Regions from separate parts of the Homo sapiens genome. Here all the other regions are linked to region 2. The links are contacts of gene promoters, found by promoter capture Hi-C in blood cells and fetal thymus (Javierre and others, 2016). All regions are on one chromosome and are shown on one strand. The core of a region is centred on a gene start or on the middle of the fragment in contact, and the rest is flanking DNA. Distances in the headings are between cores, read along the strand shown.

Region 1 (3,540 bases), core at 199-2,698, 520 kb after region 2:
AAACACCGAGATGAAGTAATCAACTTCCACAGGACAAATAACCACATTCCCCAACAGATTAAATTCACAATCAAGGATGGGAGAAAGGTAGACTATTATGGACTAAGAGTCTTCCCCCCTACCCTTTTTTCCTTTTATTTATTTTTTGGAGACATAATCTGACTCTGTCACCCAGGCTGGAGTGCAGTGGCACAATCATGGCTCCAACGATCCTCCCACCACACCCTCTCACATAGCTGGGACTACAGGCCCCCAACACCATGCCCAGCTAATTTTTAAATTATTGTAGAGACCAGGTTTTGCCATGTTGCCCAGGCTGCTCTCAAACTCCTGGGCTCAAGTGATCCTGCCGCCTAGGCCTCCCAAAGTGTTGAGGAACCAGGCCGGGCCTAGAAGAGTAGTTTCTTTTTTCTTTGCCTTTTTTTTTGAGACAGAGTTTCACTCCCGTGCCCAGGCTGGAGTACAGTGGCACAGTCTTGGCTCACTGCAACCTCTGTCTCTCGGGCTCTAGAGATTATTCTGCCTTAGCCTCCCCAGTAGCTGAGACCACAGGTGCATGCCACTGTGCTCGGCTAATTTTTGTATTTTTTTGTAGAGACGGGGTTTTGATGTTGGCCAGGCTAGTCTCTAACTCCTGGCCTCGAGTGATCCACCCACCTCGGCCTCCCAAAGTGCCGGGATGATAGGAGATATTTGCTTTATGAGTTATAATCCATTGCTATCATTATTTATTTTGTTGCTTGAATTGTCCCAGATTTCAGTTATAAACTTTTGATATGTTTAAACATATATATAATGTCCTTTTTTCGGAATTGTCTATTTTCCATTTTTCTTTTTTTTTTTTTCCGAGACGGAGTTTCACTCTTGTTGCCCAGGCTGGAGTGCAATGGCACGATCTCAGCTCACTGCAACCTCCGCCTCCCGGGTTAAAGCGATTCTCCTGCCTCAGCCTCTCGAGTAGCTGGGATTACAGGCATGCGCCAGCACGTCTGGCTAATTTTGTATTTTTAGTAGAGACGGGGTTTCTCCAGGTTGGTCCGGCTGGTCTCGAACTCCCGACCTCAGGTGATCCGCCCACCTCGGCCTCCCAAAGTGCTGGGATTACAGGTGTGAGCCACTGTGCCCGGCCTATTTTCCATTTTTCTATTGGATTTTTATCCTTTGTCCCTCAAGTTTTATGAGTTCCTTGTATATTAGGAATATTAGCCTTTTATTTGTGCTTTATGTTGCAAATATTTTCTCCTAGTTTGTAAATTGTATTTGACTTTGCTTATGGTATATTTTGCATACTATTTTTTGATTTTTTAATTTAATTAATTAATTTTACTATGGCAATAAAAGATTCCCAAATTAGCATACTTTTTTTTTTTGAGACTGAATTTTGCTCTTGTTGCCCAGGCTGGAGTGCAATGGCTCATTCTCGGCTCACTGCAACCTCCGCCTCCCAAGTAGCTGGGCTTACAGGCATGCACCACCACACCCAGCTAATTTTTGTATTTTTTAGTAGAGATGGGTTTTCACCATGTTGGCCAGGCTGGTCTTGAACTCCTGACTTCAGGTGATCCACCCACCTTGGCCTCCCAAAGTGCTGGGATTACAGGCGTGAGCCACTGTGCCTGGCCACTATTTTTTTTTTTTTTTTGAAATGGAATCTTGCCCTGTCGCCCAGGCTGGAGTGTAATGGCGCAATCTCGCCTCACTGCAACCTCCACCTCCAGGTTCAAGCGATTCTCCTGCCTCAGCCTCCTGAGCTGGGATTACAGGTGAGGACCACCACGTCCGGCTAATTTTTGTATTTTTAGTAGAGATGGGGTTTCACCGTATTGGTCAGGCTGGTCTCAAACTCCTGACCTCGTGATCCGCATGCCTCGGCCTCCCAAAGTGTTGGGATTACAGGTGTGAGCCAGTGCACCCGGCTGCCCCTGGATTTTAAGTCATAGTTAGCCTTTTCCCATACTGAGATTAAAGAGGAATTCACTATGTTTTCTTCTAGTAGTTATGTAGCTTCATATTTTACATTTAGATTCGTGATCCATTTGGCATTTGTTCTTATGTATGATGTGGACTATAGATCTAATTTTACCTTTTCCAAATGGCTACCCAGTGATCCCAGCATTAAAAAGCCCATCTTTGCTTTTTAGATGTCACCTTTGTTATACACTACATTTTCTTACGGAGTTGAGTCTATTTCTGGGTTTTCTGTTTCCCTGGTCATACACCAGTGCCACACTGTTTTAATATAGAGGCTTTCAAATTTTTGTTTGTTTTTTTATTGTTTGAGATGGAGTCTCGCTCTGTCAGCAGGCTGGAGTGCAGTGGCACAATCTTGACTCACTGCAACCTCTGCCTCCCTGGTTCAAGCGATCCTCCTGCCTTAGCCTCCCAAGTAGCTGAGACTACAGGCACTCACCACCATGCCCAGCTAATTTTTTGTATTTTTAGTAGAGACAGGGTTTCACCATGTTGGTCAGGCTGGTCTTGATCTCTTGACTTCATGATCCACCCACCTCGGCCTCCCAAAGTTCTGGGATTACAGGCGTGAGCCACCACGCCCAGCCAGGCTTTCAAATTTTTATGTCTGATTGGGCAAGTCCCCCTTCCTATATATTTTTAAGTAAGTCTCATTGCTTAATAGCCACAATTCATTTTAAAAATCTTTTTTATTTTGTTTTATTTATTTTCGAGACAAGTTCTCACTCCGTTGCCCAGGCTGATTCTCCCACCTTAGCTTCCAGAGTAGCTGAGACTACAGGCATGTGCCACCACACCCACCTAATTTTTTTTTCTTTCTCTTTTTCTTTTTTTTTTTGAGAGGGAGTTTTGCTCTTGTTGCCCAGGCTGGAGTGAAATGGGGTGATCTCGGCTTACTGCAACCTCTACCTCCCAGGTTCAAGCAATTCTCCTGCCTCAGCCTCCTGAGTAGCTGGAATTATAGGCATGCGCCACAACTCCCAGCTAATTTTTTTGGTACTTTTAGTAGAAACGGGGTTTCTCTATGTTGGTCAGGCTGGTCTCGACCTCCTGACCTCAGGTGATCTGCCCACCTCAGCCTCCCAAAGTGCTGGGATTACAGGCGTGAGCCACCATGCCCAACTTTTTTTTTTATTTTTTAAGCAGAGATGAGGTCTCACCATGTTACTCAGGCCGGGTCTTGAATTCCTGAGCTCAAGTGATCCTCCTGCCTTGGCTTCCCAAAGTGCTGGGATTACAGGTGTGAGCCACCATGCCCAGCTTTTTTTTAAAATTTTTTAAGCAGAGATGAGGTCTCACCATGTTACTCATGCTGGGTCTTGAATTCCTGAGCTCAAGTGATCCTCCTGCCTTGGCTTCCCAAAGTGCTGGGATTACAGGTGTGAGCAACCGTGCCTGGCTCCTTGGGAGAAATTGAAAATGTGAGTGTGTGAAGTATCTTTCCTCTCCCAAAACCCAATCTCTCACTTTTGGCATGTGAGGAGTGTTTGGGTATTTGAGGCTAACTCTCCTTATTCATGTCTTACTGGGAGTTTAGGAGAGGATCCTGCATGAGGAGCAATATTAGAA
Region 2 (3,401 bases), core at 39-2,538:
ACATGAACCAAAGAGGTGGCCCACCTGCTCCAAAAACTACTGTGTGATCCAAGGATAAATAATTTGCAAAAGGTCAGCTTGGCCCTACTGCCTGTAGGGCAGTCTCTGAGATAAGAAGTAGCTGCCGGTGGAACAAATTCCCCCTACCTGAAGAGCGCCGCGGCTGCCAGGCTTGTGATAGTGTATTTCTCAGAGAGCAGATTCTGTGCAGTACTAAACCACTTAGGCAAAATTAAAATCTTTCAGGAATGTCTAAACTCACAAAGCACACATGTGCAAGCTGACGGGCAGACAGCAAATTTCGGGGAAGCGTACAAACTTGGGGGTGTTTTAATGCAACCATTTTCAGCCAAACCCCCGAGGATTCCCGAGTATGTTAAAATGAGCCTCAGGAGAGGAATAACTCATAGAAAGAAGGGGCAAGGGCTCAAGAAGAGATCTTCAGCGAAATAACCAAGGAAGGAAGCGTGGCTGCTGTCTGAACCTCTCCGCCCTGCAGGGGACCAAAGACCGACTCGGGCCAACGCTGCTCTCCAGGGGGCGAGGGCGGGGGGTCGACAGTGACCATTGTGGCCACCAGACCGGACGGACAGTGGCGGCCTCGCCGAAGTAGAGGGCGCGAGTGGGAGAGGAGGCAGAGGCCAGAGCATCCGCCGCGGCAGGGAGGGGACGGGGGGCTCCCGCCCCAGGCCCACCCGGCAGAGGGGCGGCCGGTGGGGCCGAGGCGGCGGCACCCGGGTCACAGCAGGAGGCTGGACTGCTCCTCGCCGGGAAGGAAAGACCCGAGTCGCGCGCACAAAGCTGCCGCCCTCCAGGCAGCGGGCAGGCTGCGCCCAACTTCGGGGCGAGCAGCGCCGGCCGCAGCCCACCCGCCCGCCAGCCGCCCCCAGCGCCCCGCGCCGCCTCGCACCCACCCATGGCGCCTCGCGCGGGAGCCGTTACCCCCAGTGGAGCCGCGGCCCCAGGGACAAAGTCCCGGTCCTGTCCTCGCCGCCGCCTCGCCCCGGCTCCTCCCTGACAAAAAAAAGTTATCCGTTGCCGGACGCCCTGGGGGCCCGGCGTGGGTCTCTCGGCTGGACTCACCAGGGCGGCTGCCGGAGCTCCACCTGCAGGACCTCGACTCGTGAGGCTCTCAGCGACAGCGACGGAGGCTGCTCTGCTTCCTCCCGAGTAGCAGCACCACCTGCTCCCCTTCTTCCTAGCAGAACGGGTCCCGGTGAGCCATCTTCCCCCTCCTCTCACTGACTGACAACCCAGCCGGGAGAGCCACCACTGCCGCCAGCCTCTCTGACAGGCACGACCAGGGACCCGTCCTCAAGCAGCCAACCACCACCGCCCCACGCCAGTTCAGCCTATCGCCGTCCTCCGGGGCGGGATCAGAACAACTTCTCCACCAATGAGAATCTTCTTCTGCTGGGCCTGGGGCGGAGCCATGAGGCGCCTTGAGTGGGCGTGGTCTGAGCAATGGGCGTGATCCGGGCGTCCGAGGGAAGTTGATTGACTGTAAGGTTTGCGGTGGCCGCTAGGCGATGACAATCAGCGAAGGTCTCTTAGATTCTGAGCCGTTAGGGCTTATGGCCTTCTCAGAAAAAAATAAACCTTACCGGATGATGTGAAGGGTATCAATTTGTTTCTCTTTTGTGAGAAAAGAGAAACAAATTGATAATTTACTAGTCAGTAGGATTTACTTCCCTGTAATTAAATTCACAAGAATTTATCAAAATCTTATCAAATCCCGGGAGGAAAAAAAAATTACGTTTTTGCAAAATGGAAATACAAACTTCCCCCTCACTACATCATTGCTTTTGGGCTTAGCCTGGAAAAAGTCAAATACGATGCCTCAGTTTTCTTTCCATGGGGGTTGTTTTTATTTTTTCCATCATTCCTCCCTACTTTTTCTCTGAACATATACTAAATGTTTTGTATAATAACTGGAACCCGAGAACACCTGAACCTGCGCCTGCAGACAGTACTGCTGTTTTTGACCTTGTAAACCTCTCCTACCACATCCTTCTCAAGACTGGTCAGGATTAATTAGAAGAAAAACTGACCTCCACCCTAGAAGACAGGAAGTTCATTCTAGCTTTACACTAGAAATGGGCAGGATTTCTCCAGAAACACTAAGTGAACTTTTCAAACATGCTGAACTCATAAATAACAAGCACATAAATAAGAAGATATATTACTTGATATCAAAAGGGTATCAAGCAAACAATTTCAGGTAATTATTAGGGCAGATTGCTAAAACAGATAGGATCCCCCTCCAAAGGGAGGATCAGATTAATGAGTAAATAATAACAAACTACAGTGATAAGGACAATAGAGATTGGTTCAATGAGCAATGGAAACAGAGGACAAGAAATGACTGTTTAGGAAAGTCAGCGAACTCCACAAGGAAGGTAATGTTTGAGTTGGATCTTAAAAGGTAAATGGGAGTTTGCCAGAGAAGAAAGTCAAAGGGTATTTCAGAAAGGGAGAACACCATGTTCAAAGGCATGGAGCTGTGAAAGGGCACAGAGCCATTGTGGAATGTTGAGAAGGTAGATGGGGTTAAATGATGAGGAACGGCCAAAAATTGGGCTGGAGCAAAAGGTTGAGGTGAGATTGTAAAAGACCTCACAAGCTACACTAAGATATTCAGACAAGCACTGTCCAGCAGAGCTTTCTGCACTGGTGAAAATGTTCTATATTTGTGTTGTCCAAAATAGTAGCCATTAGCCACATGTGGCTATCAAATACTTGAAATGTGGTGTGACTGAAGAGCTCAATGTATTTATTTATTTATTTATTTATTTTTGAGACAAGGTCTCACTCTGTCACCCAAACTGGGGTAGAGTGCTTAAGTGATCCTCCCACCTCAGCCTCCCAAAGTGCTGGGATTACAGACATGAACTACCATACACGGCTGAAACTCAATTTTTAATTTTTTTTTTTTTTGGCAGAGTCTCCCTCTGTCACCCAGGCTGGAGTACAGTGGTGGGATCTTACCTCACTGCACTTCCACTTCCCAGGTTCAAGCAATTCTCCTGCCTCAGCCTCCTGAGTAGCTGGGGTTACATGAACTCACCACCACACCCAGCTAATTTTTGTATTTTTTGTAGAGACAGGGGTTCACCATGTTGGCCAGGCTGGTCTCGAACTCCTGACCTCAGGTGCTCCACCCACCTCAGCCTCCCAAAGTGCTGGGATTACAGGTGTGAACCACCATGTCTGGCATTAATTTTTAATTTTAACTTTAACAACTCCCATATTGGATAGCTCAGGTTTAGATTTTCTTCTTAAGGCAATGAGGGACAGACAACAGCTTTTAATCATGTGGACAATGCAATCAGGTTTCTTTTAAATGGTGAGAATCCAAAGAAAAAAAAACAGGGTAGAGAGGAAATTCTTGACAGATCAGA
Region 3 (3,593 bases), core at 121-2,620, 590 kb after region 2:
GGGTGACTGGTAAGGATGAACTTAAACTGCCGTGTTGATTGTTGACTGTGACGGTAATGAGAATGGCTCAGCCAGCTAGGGTTCGAATCCTGCCTGGGTTTCTCTCACTGCCTGCCTTGGTGATCTTGGTTACTTAAAGGCTCTAAGCTTGAGTTTTCTCATCCATCAAAACACACACCTGTAAGTGGTTAGAATTAGGAATATAGACCTATAACGTCATTAGTTCTTCATTTGATGAAAAGATCCTTTGTGATACTTTCATTAGCTATGACTGAAGTGACCGAAGTGGCCTCTGGACTTGAGTTTTGTGCTTTTGTTTGTTTAATCATCCTGGGTTGTGTGTTCTTCACTTTATCTTAAACCTAACCAAAGGATTCATTAAAATATGCCGTCTTCCTAATTTTTGCTGTTTTAAGATGGCTGAGAATGTTCTTAGGAAATTGATGACTCTGCTTTTCTGTGGATCAGCTTCAGAGGTACAAGTATTCACCTCTCCCCTCCCCCTCAGGTGTGTCCTTTGGGAATCCTTAGAGGCGCTAAGTGTTTGTTTCGTCAGAGTAGGCATCCAGGTATTTTACAGTCCTGCCTCTGGGCTTCACCATATTTAACCTGGGTCAACTTTTTTCTACATCTGTCTGCATCTTCTCACTGATTAATAATTTCTCACTCTAAAATGTGTTGCAAAAATACTTGTTTTGAGGAAAATGTTTCTATGTTGGTGTTATTTAGTGCAGTGTAGGACAGAGAGTAATGGCTACGGAAATAGGAGTCCTTAGTTTTGTCCTTGCTCTGTCACTATCTGTGTAACCTGAGATTACTTTGTGGTCCTCAATGTCCTCATCTCTAAAATAGTGAATTGGTCTGATTCCAAGGACTCTTCTAGCTCAGACTTTCAATGATAAAGGTTTTTAGAGGTTTTTTTTTAAATGTGGAAACAAAATTTGTGTAAACCCTTTTAGTCATTTGTGTTCTTAGTGTTTCTTCCTGCTTCAGGTCATATAATTCTTTCAAACTACCTTGAAAGAAGGAATACATTTAAGAGAACAAGAAAGCTGCCAGAAATAAGAATCTCTACCAGCCAGTTATCACTCTCTCATGAGCTGCACAGTTTCTCTGCATTTTTGACATGCTTTGTTCTCTTTCTCCCTACTCTGTATCTTTTGCTCATAGCCCCTATACCTGTTGTGCCTGATTCTTCATAACTTTAGCTTGTCAATCCCCTCATCCAACTTTATTATTTATTTTCATGACTTCTCCTTCAGCTCCTTCTGCCAACTGCCTGGTTTTCCCTGGGGCCTCTTTGTTTGAGGCCAGAGATGCTAGCCTAGTTGGCTTTGGAAGGGGAGGTGGGGACATGTGGCACAAAACATGATTGGCCACGGCTGTGACAGGTGAAGCTCTGTGATTGAAGTATCTAGTGCTGCATAGTGTGTGTCTATGTATATGTATATATATAGGTTTTGTTGTTTTTTTTTTTTGAGACAGAGTCTTACTCTGTCACCCAGGCTGTAGTGCAGTGGTGCTGGCTCACTGCAACTTCTACCTTTTGGGTTCAAGCAATTCTTGTACCTCATGCCTGGCTAATTTTTGTAGTTTTAGTAGAGACAGGGTCTCACCATGTTGGTCAGGCTGGTCTTGAACTTCTGACCTCAAGTGATCTGCCTATGTCAGCTTCCCAAATGGTGGGATTATAGGTGTGAGCCCTGGAGCCCGGCCTGCATAGTTTATTTTATTGCATATTTTAGTTTAGTTAGTTTAGTTTGAGACAGCCTTGCTCTTTCACTCAGCTTGGAGTGCAGTGGTGCGATCTCTGCACACTGCATCCTCTACCTCCCAGGTTCAAGCGATTCTTGTACCTCAGCCATCCAAGTAACTGGGTTTACAGGCATGCACCACCATGCCTGGCTAATTTTTGTATTTTTAGTAGAGATGGGGTTTCACCATGTTGACCAGACTGGTCTTGAATGCCTGACCTCAAGTGATCCGCCCTCTTCAGCCTCCCAAGGTGCTGGGATCACAGGCATGAGCCACCACGCCAGGCCATATTTTAAATTAAACTTTTACTGTAGCATAATGGTTAGTTTTCTTTTTGCCTTAACATTTTCTGTTTTTATCCCTGCCTCACTTTACCATTTTTCTTTTATCTGTTTTTGTAATATTCAGTGCTATTGTCTTCTATTCTGTCTCCCAAATGTGCCATCTAAAAATGATCTGATATCTTGACACTCATTATTTCCGTATCTTAGCTGGAATTTTAGTGTAGCTTCTCTCAAGGCAGTGCATTTTAAATCTTAGACCTTATTATGGAGCGAATGGCTGTGTTCTGTGTTAACCCCCCCCCCCCCACCACCATATTAGCCTCAGGCAGTGTTACATAGAGAAAATATTTTAGGAATGCCCCTTTTTCCCTGAAATTACATTCCGGGGTCAAGTCTGTGGAGGACTTTTTTTTGGGTCGTTTTTGGAGAGAACTATTTGAACCTCTGAGCTGTGGTGAACATACTGTGTCTTTTTGTAGTAAATCTATGCCTCTCTAGCTGAAATTCCTTTGGAGACTAATAGGCAGTAGTTCTTCTAGTACCTTTGGCTGAGTGAAAGCTTCTCTGCCTGCTAGTTGCTGCTATTGCTGTTGATAGTTACTTTAGCTATAGTTATAATGGCACAAAATGTAGAGCACTGAATAGATGCAAAAATGAGATTTGAATGAGAGATTTTAAGGTATGATTAGCCATCTATTTGTGTTTTTAATATTGCTGTTGCTATGTTTGCATAAAATACAAGGAAGTACTTCATGACAGATGACAGGGAGTGTGAAATGCAGTATTTTTTAAACTTTTTTGTTACAATCCGTAGTAAGAGATCTTTTTATAGCAAGACTCCATTGATGGCTGAGTATGGTTGTGTGCACCTGCAGTCAGTCCTAGCTACTAGGGAGGTAGAGGTGGGAGAATCATGTGGGCCCAGGAGTTTGAGACTGGCCTGGGCAACATAGTTAGATCTCATATCAATAATTAAAAAAAAAAAAAAAGACTCCATACACGTGTAACTGTGTGTGCATAGGCTGGACTCAGTGGCTCATGCCTGTAATCCCAGCGCTTTGGGAAGCTGAGGCAGGAAGATCGCCTGAGCTCAAGAGTTTGAGACCAGCCTGGGCAACATAGTGAGACCTTGTCGCTGCTAAAAATAAAATTTGTCAAGTGTAGTGGCACACACCTGTAGTCCCAGCTGCTTAGGAGGCTGAGGCAGGGGCAAGGGTGGGGGCCTCTTCAGTCTGGGAGATCAAGGCTCAGTGAGCTATGGCCACTGCATTCTAGCCTGGGCAACAGAGCCAGACCTTATCTCAAACAGCAACAACTGTGTATGCATGCATATGTCTGTATATGTAAAAATAAACTGGAAATTTAACAAAACAAAATTGGTAGTGTGTACGGTCTACTCTGATGGTTTCTATTTTATCTTGTGTTTTGAAAATTGCTCATTGCAAACTGTTGATTTTGTTCCCTGCTTTTGAAAAACAGTGGAGTCCTGTGCTGAAAGTTTGGATGCCTAACGTTTCTCTGTATGTTTGACTTTGAGTAGTCATTAATTCTCTT
Region 4 (3,395 bases), core at 519-3,018, 900 kb before region 2:
CGCCCGGCTAATTTTTTGTATTTTTAGTAGAGACGGGGTTTCACCGTGTTAGCCAGGGTGGGTCGATCTCCTGACCTTGTGATCCACCTGCCTCGGCCTCCAAAAGTGCTGGGATTACAGGCATGAGCCACTGCACCCGGCTGGGATCTTTCAGTTAGAGCTCTACATGAAATAAACTGAGGGGCAGAGGAAATAATGAGAGAAGACTGGGCTCTTTTCAACATCTAGCCGAAGACACTAAAGCAGCTCTGAAATGCCAGCATTTGCACTGTTTAAAAAACCCAAAGATTGGGAACTTATTTTCTTAAAAGGAAAGAAGAGTAACACGGTCAAAAAGGAGTGTTTTCCGCATCGGGAGGGCTTTGTACTGGAAAGAAACGGAGGAACTGCCACGTTTGGCACCCAGAAGGATGCCTTTTTTTTTTTTTCTGTGTGAATCCTCCCCACTCCCACCTCAGCCCACCCCGCAACAGTCAAGCTTTGGGTCCAAACCAATCTGGCATCTCTAAAATGGAAGCACTGTTTGGAGACAAAGTGGCCAGGCACTGCCGGCCAGAGAAAAGACAATGCCCCACACCCACGGCCTGCCCGCACTGAAATGCCTATTCATCTCCATTTTTATCGACATCTCTTGGCTTCCAGGCCCTGTTTGTGCTTTGTCCTTGGTCCTTATTGACCTATTGGATTCGGAGGGGAAGCTCAGCCGCAGGCAAATGGGTATTTTAATCCACAATGGAAAACATGGGTTCCTCTAGCGCCACTGGCAGCTCCCAGCATCTTGACCCTGACCTTTTCAGCAGCGTGTGGCCACACACTCTACCCAGGCCAAAGAACGAAAGGGCCCCAGGGCACACACTGGGGCCAAGAAAAGGAATCGAATGGTGGAATGTTGCTGACTTTTCCTTCTGGATCTGCCTTTGAGACTCTTGCATGGGAAAAAAGGGTGAAGAAGGGGCAGAAGCAAAGCTTAGTCTTTGTCTGATTCAGTCTTTGCACTCCCCCTGCCCCCTCCTCTGGCAGGCCATGGAGGCCACACCTGGCACACCTGGGCATGTTCCAGATGCTTATAAAGGTCCAGGGAAGCAGGGCTGCTCAGTCATTGTGAGGATCTGGGAAATTCTCAGTCCTCATGGGTTCTGTGAGCAGCCAAGGTGATCAGCCCTGACAGGATGGTCAGGATGGCAGTGAAGAGGCTTGATTGATTGACAGGTGAGCAGACGATGGGACTCTCGGCAGCCCTAATCAGCGAGAGAGTTGCTTCTGAGCACAGCTCAGCTAATGTCCCACGCTGTTCCGGAGCCTCAAGGAAGAATGGGCTGACGGTGGTCCCAGGCCTCCTAGACCAAGTGCAGCTGGCGCAGACCTCTGGCGTGGTTGACTCGGAACCCGTTCTGGGAACGTGAACTTGGATTCACCTTAGCAATAAGTGCTCAGGAATGTGTTGGAATTGCTGCCAGCTCCTGGGACAGGCAGACCCCAGAACACTGGAAGAGATCTGAAGCCCTGGCACCCCTACCAGCCCCATGGGCTCCACATTCAATCAAGCAGGTCATCGGTTATCTCTACCTTCACATGGCCTGGAAGCCCAGCAGGCAGGGTTTGCTCTGTGATATGACAATGCTGCTGAGTCTCCTGTCACTCACCGCAGCACCTCTGCGTAGTAAACGGCGTCTTTCCTGGGTCTATGACAGTTACCATAGCTCTTCCAGGACCACAGAAGTACCTACCTTGTTCTGGTTTTGTGATCAACACTGATACATAAATGTAAAGAAGGCAACCGGTGCTTGAGGGGACATCTAGTGTATTGGGAGGTGAGGAGCAGGCCAACTAGTTCAGAGGCTCTGACTTGGTTGGAGAGGGGTAAACCCAGGTGTTACGAGGGTGCTTGGTTGGGGGGAATCTGGTGTAGGCTAGAGGGGCCAGTGCAGGTTTCCTGGGGGTGCTGAGACCTGGGGCATGAAGAAGAGTTACTTATGTGAGGAGGAGAGAGGAGCTCCAGGCCAGAAAGTCCACATCCACTACACCAGAAGCTCCACCCGTTCCGGAACCACACTCCCTGGACTGGCTCTGGAATGTACACCCATGTTTAGCACAGCGCCTCCTAGTGTTCCCAAGTCCCCACTCGCTACTTGGCTGTTGAACAAATAAGCTCAAAGGTCTGGAGGTGAGTGCCTGAACGTTTTAGCTGGGCTGGAGTGGACCTGAGGAATGTGTCCCCTGGGGTGTGGGGCAGGAACAGGGAGCAGAAGCCAGAGGTGAGGCTGGGGAAGGACAGTGGCTGGGAAGTTGCTTTTGGGCACTTGCACTTTCTCCTGAGGGCCAGCGGTCGGAGTGGGGGAAGACTGGAGACCTGCTTCTCCATCCTTTCCCTGCCCTCACTTTCTTCATTTTCTTAGGAGCCAACAGACCTGTGCAAACCTCAGCTTTCCCCAGTTCAGCTCCTTTTCCATCTTCTTGATTTCTGTATTTTTAAAAAAACAAGGCTGCATTATATTGTAGGAGAACAATAACCCACTGGACCACATCCTGGTAAGGAAGAGCTGCAAAGCCATGGCCTCATCACTGTAGACATAAGCTTCCAACAGTGCCCCATTGTGGCATTTGATTTAACTCAGCCCTTCAAAAACATGCATTTCTGACTTAAATTCTGCACACCATCACCATATCCCCAGCAGATGTCGCTAACGTCTCACATTTTGGTCATGCCAGCAGCACGCATCTCAGGCAACAAATATTTATTAAGCAGCGAATGTGCATTGTGCACCAGGCTGAGCACTTTGTAGATAAAAATTCCTGGGGCATGACCCAGGACATGAAGAAAAGTTACTTAAGTGAGGAGGAGAGAAGAGATCCAGATCATTTTTTGATGACAAAAGAAGGTAACATAAAAAAATAATGGACTGTCTGAAAAGTTCTTTCCCATTGAGGTACAAGTTTGTTTCTGGCTATGCAATGTGAAATTGGAACTGAATGTCTGGGACCACCTCGAAGCTTGTTTCAAAGGCCTATTACTACGTGTCTTTTAGACAGATTTTATTTCAGCTTGCCTAATTGAAGCCTCTGGAATCTCTAATGACAGAAGTGTAATTCATATTTCTACATTTCTTCTGGAAAGGAAGGCCCGAATGAGAAGGCAGCACTAAACAAACCGTGAAGTCAAAGTTGAAGTATGGTTGCTAGGGGAAGAGTGTCGAGAGCCCCATGAGGTGGTTGCCCTCTGAGATGGCTTGTTGCCCAAGTGGGTGGTGTCTATTTGGTTGGACTTGAAGAGGTTCTGTGCATCGAAGTTGCTCCACATGGCTGTGCTGACAATGCTTGGAGCTTGGACCTGGAGGTTTGAAGCATCATTATTGAGCAAGTATTCATCCAGCACAACACCCCAGCTCATAGAATGG

What was found. Contacts are between HindIII fragments. The CHiCAGO score rates a contact against its expected background, and 5 or more counts as called.
Region 1: a fragment that was not itself captured here is called in contact with the fragment with the promoter of HYCC1 in region 2 in 1 of 17 cell types (neutrophils); the score reaches 9.1 in neutrophils.
Region 3: a fragment that was not itself captured here is called in contact with the fragment with the promoter of HYCC1 in region 2 in 1 of 17 cell types (neutrophils); the score reaches 5.7 in neutrophils.
Region 4: a contact is called between a fragment that was not itself captured here and the fragment with the promoter of HYCC1 in region 2, in 1 of 17 cell types (fetal thymus). The highest score is 5.9, in fetal thymus.

Annotation. Positions count from the first base shown.
Region 1 is chr7:23,534,079-23,537,618 of GRCh38, forward strand. No RefSeq gene overlaps it. Among named protein-coding and RNA genes, the nearest start is that of TRA2A, 3.9 kb to the left of the region's middle. The HindIII fragment of the contact is 4,760 bases long and covers 1-3,540 here.
Region 2 is chr7:23,012,842-23,016,242 of GRCh38, forward strand. It overlaps HYCC1 (hyccin PI4KA lipid kinase complex subunit 1), which reads right to left and starts at 1,289. Exons shown (of 11, transcript NM_032581.4): 1 at 1,084-1,289. RefSeq lists enhancers at 1-672, 1,090-1,279, 1,440-1,619 and a silencer at 630-899. The HindIII fragment of the contact is 9,152 bases long and covers 1-3,401 here.
Region 3 is chr7:23,598,043-23,601,635 of GRCh38, forward strand. It overlaps CCDC126 (coiled-coil domain containing 126), which reads left to right. Exons shown (of 4, transcript NM_138771.4): 2 at 1-9. Among named protein-coding and RNA genes, the nearest start is that of CCDC126, 2.5 kb to the left of the region's middle. The HindIII fragment of the contact is 2,451 bases long and covers 146-2,596 here.
Region 4 is chr7:22,107,791-22,111,185 of GRCh38, forward strand. No RefSeq gene overlaps it. Among named protein-coding and RNA genes, the nearest start is that of CDCA7L, 160 kb to the left of the region's middle. The HindIII fragment of the contact is 1,609 bases long and covers 965-2,573 here.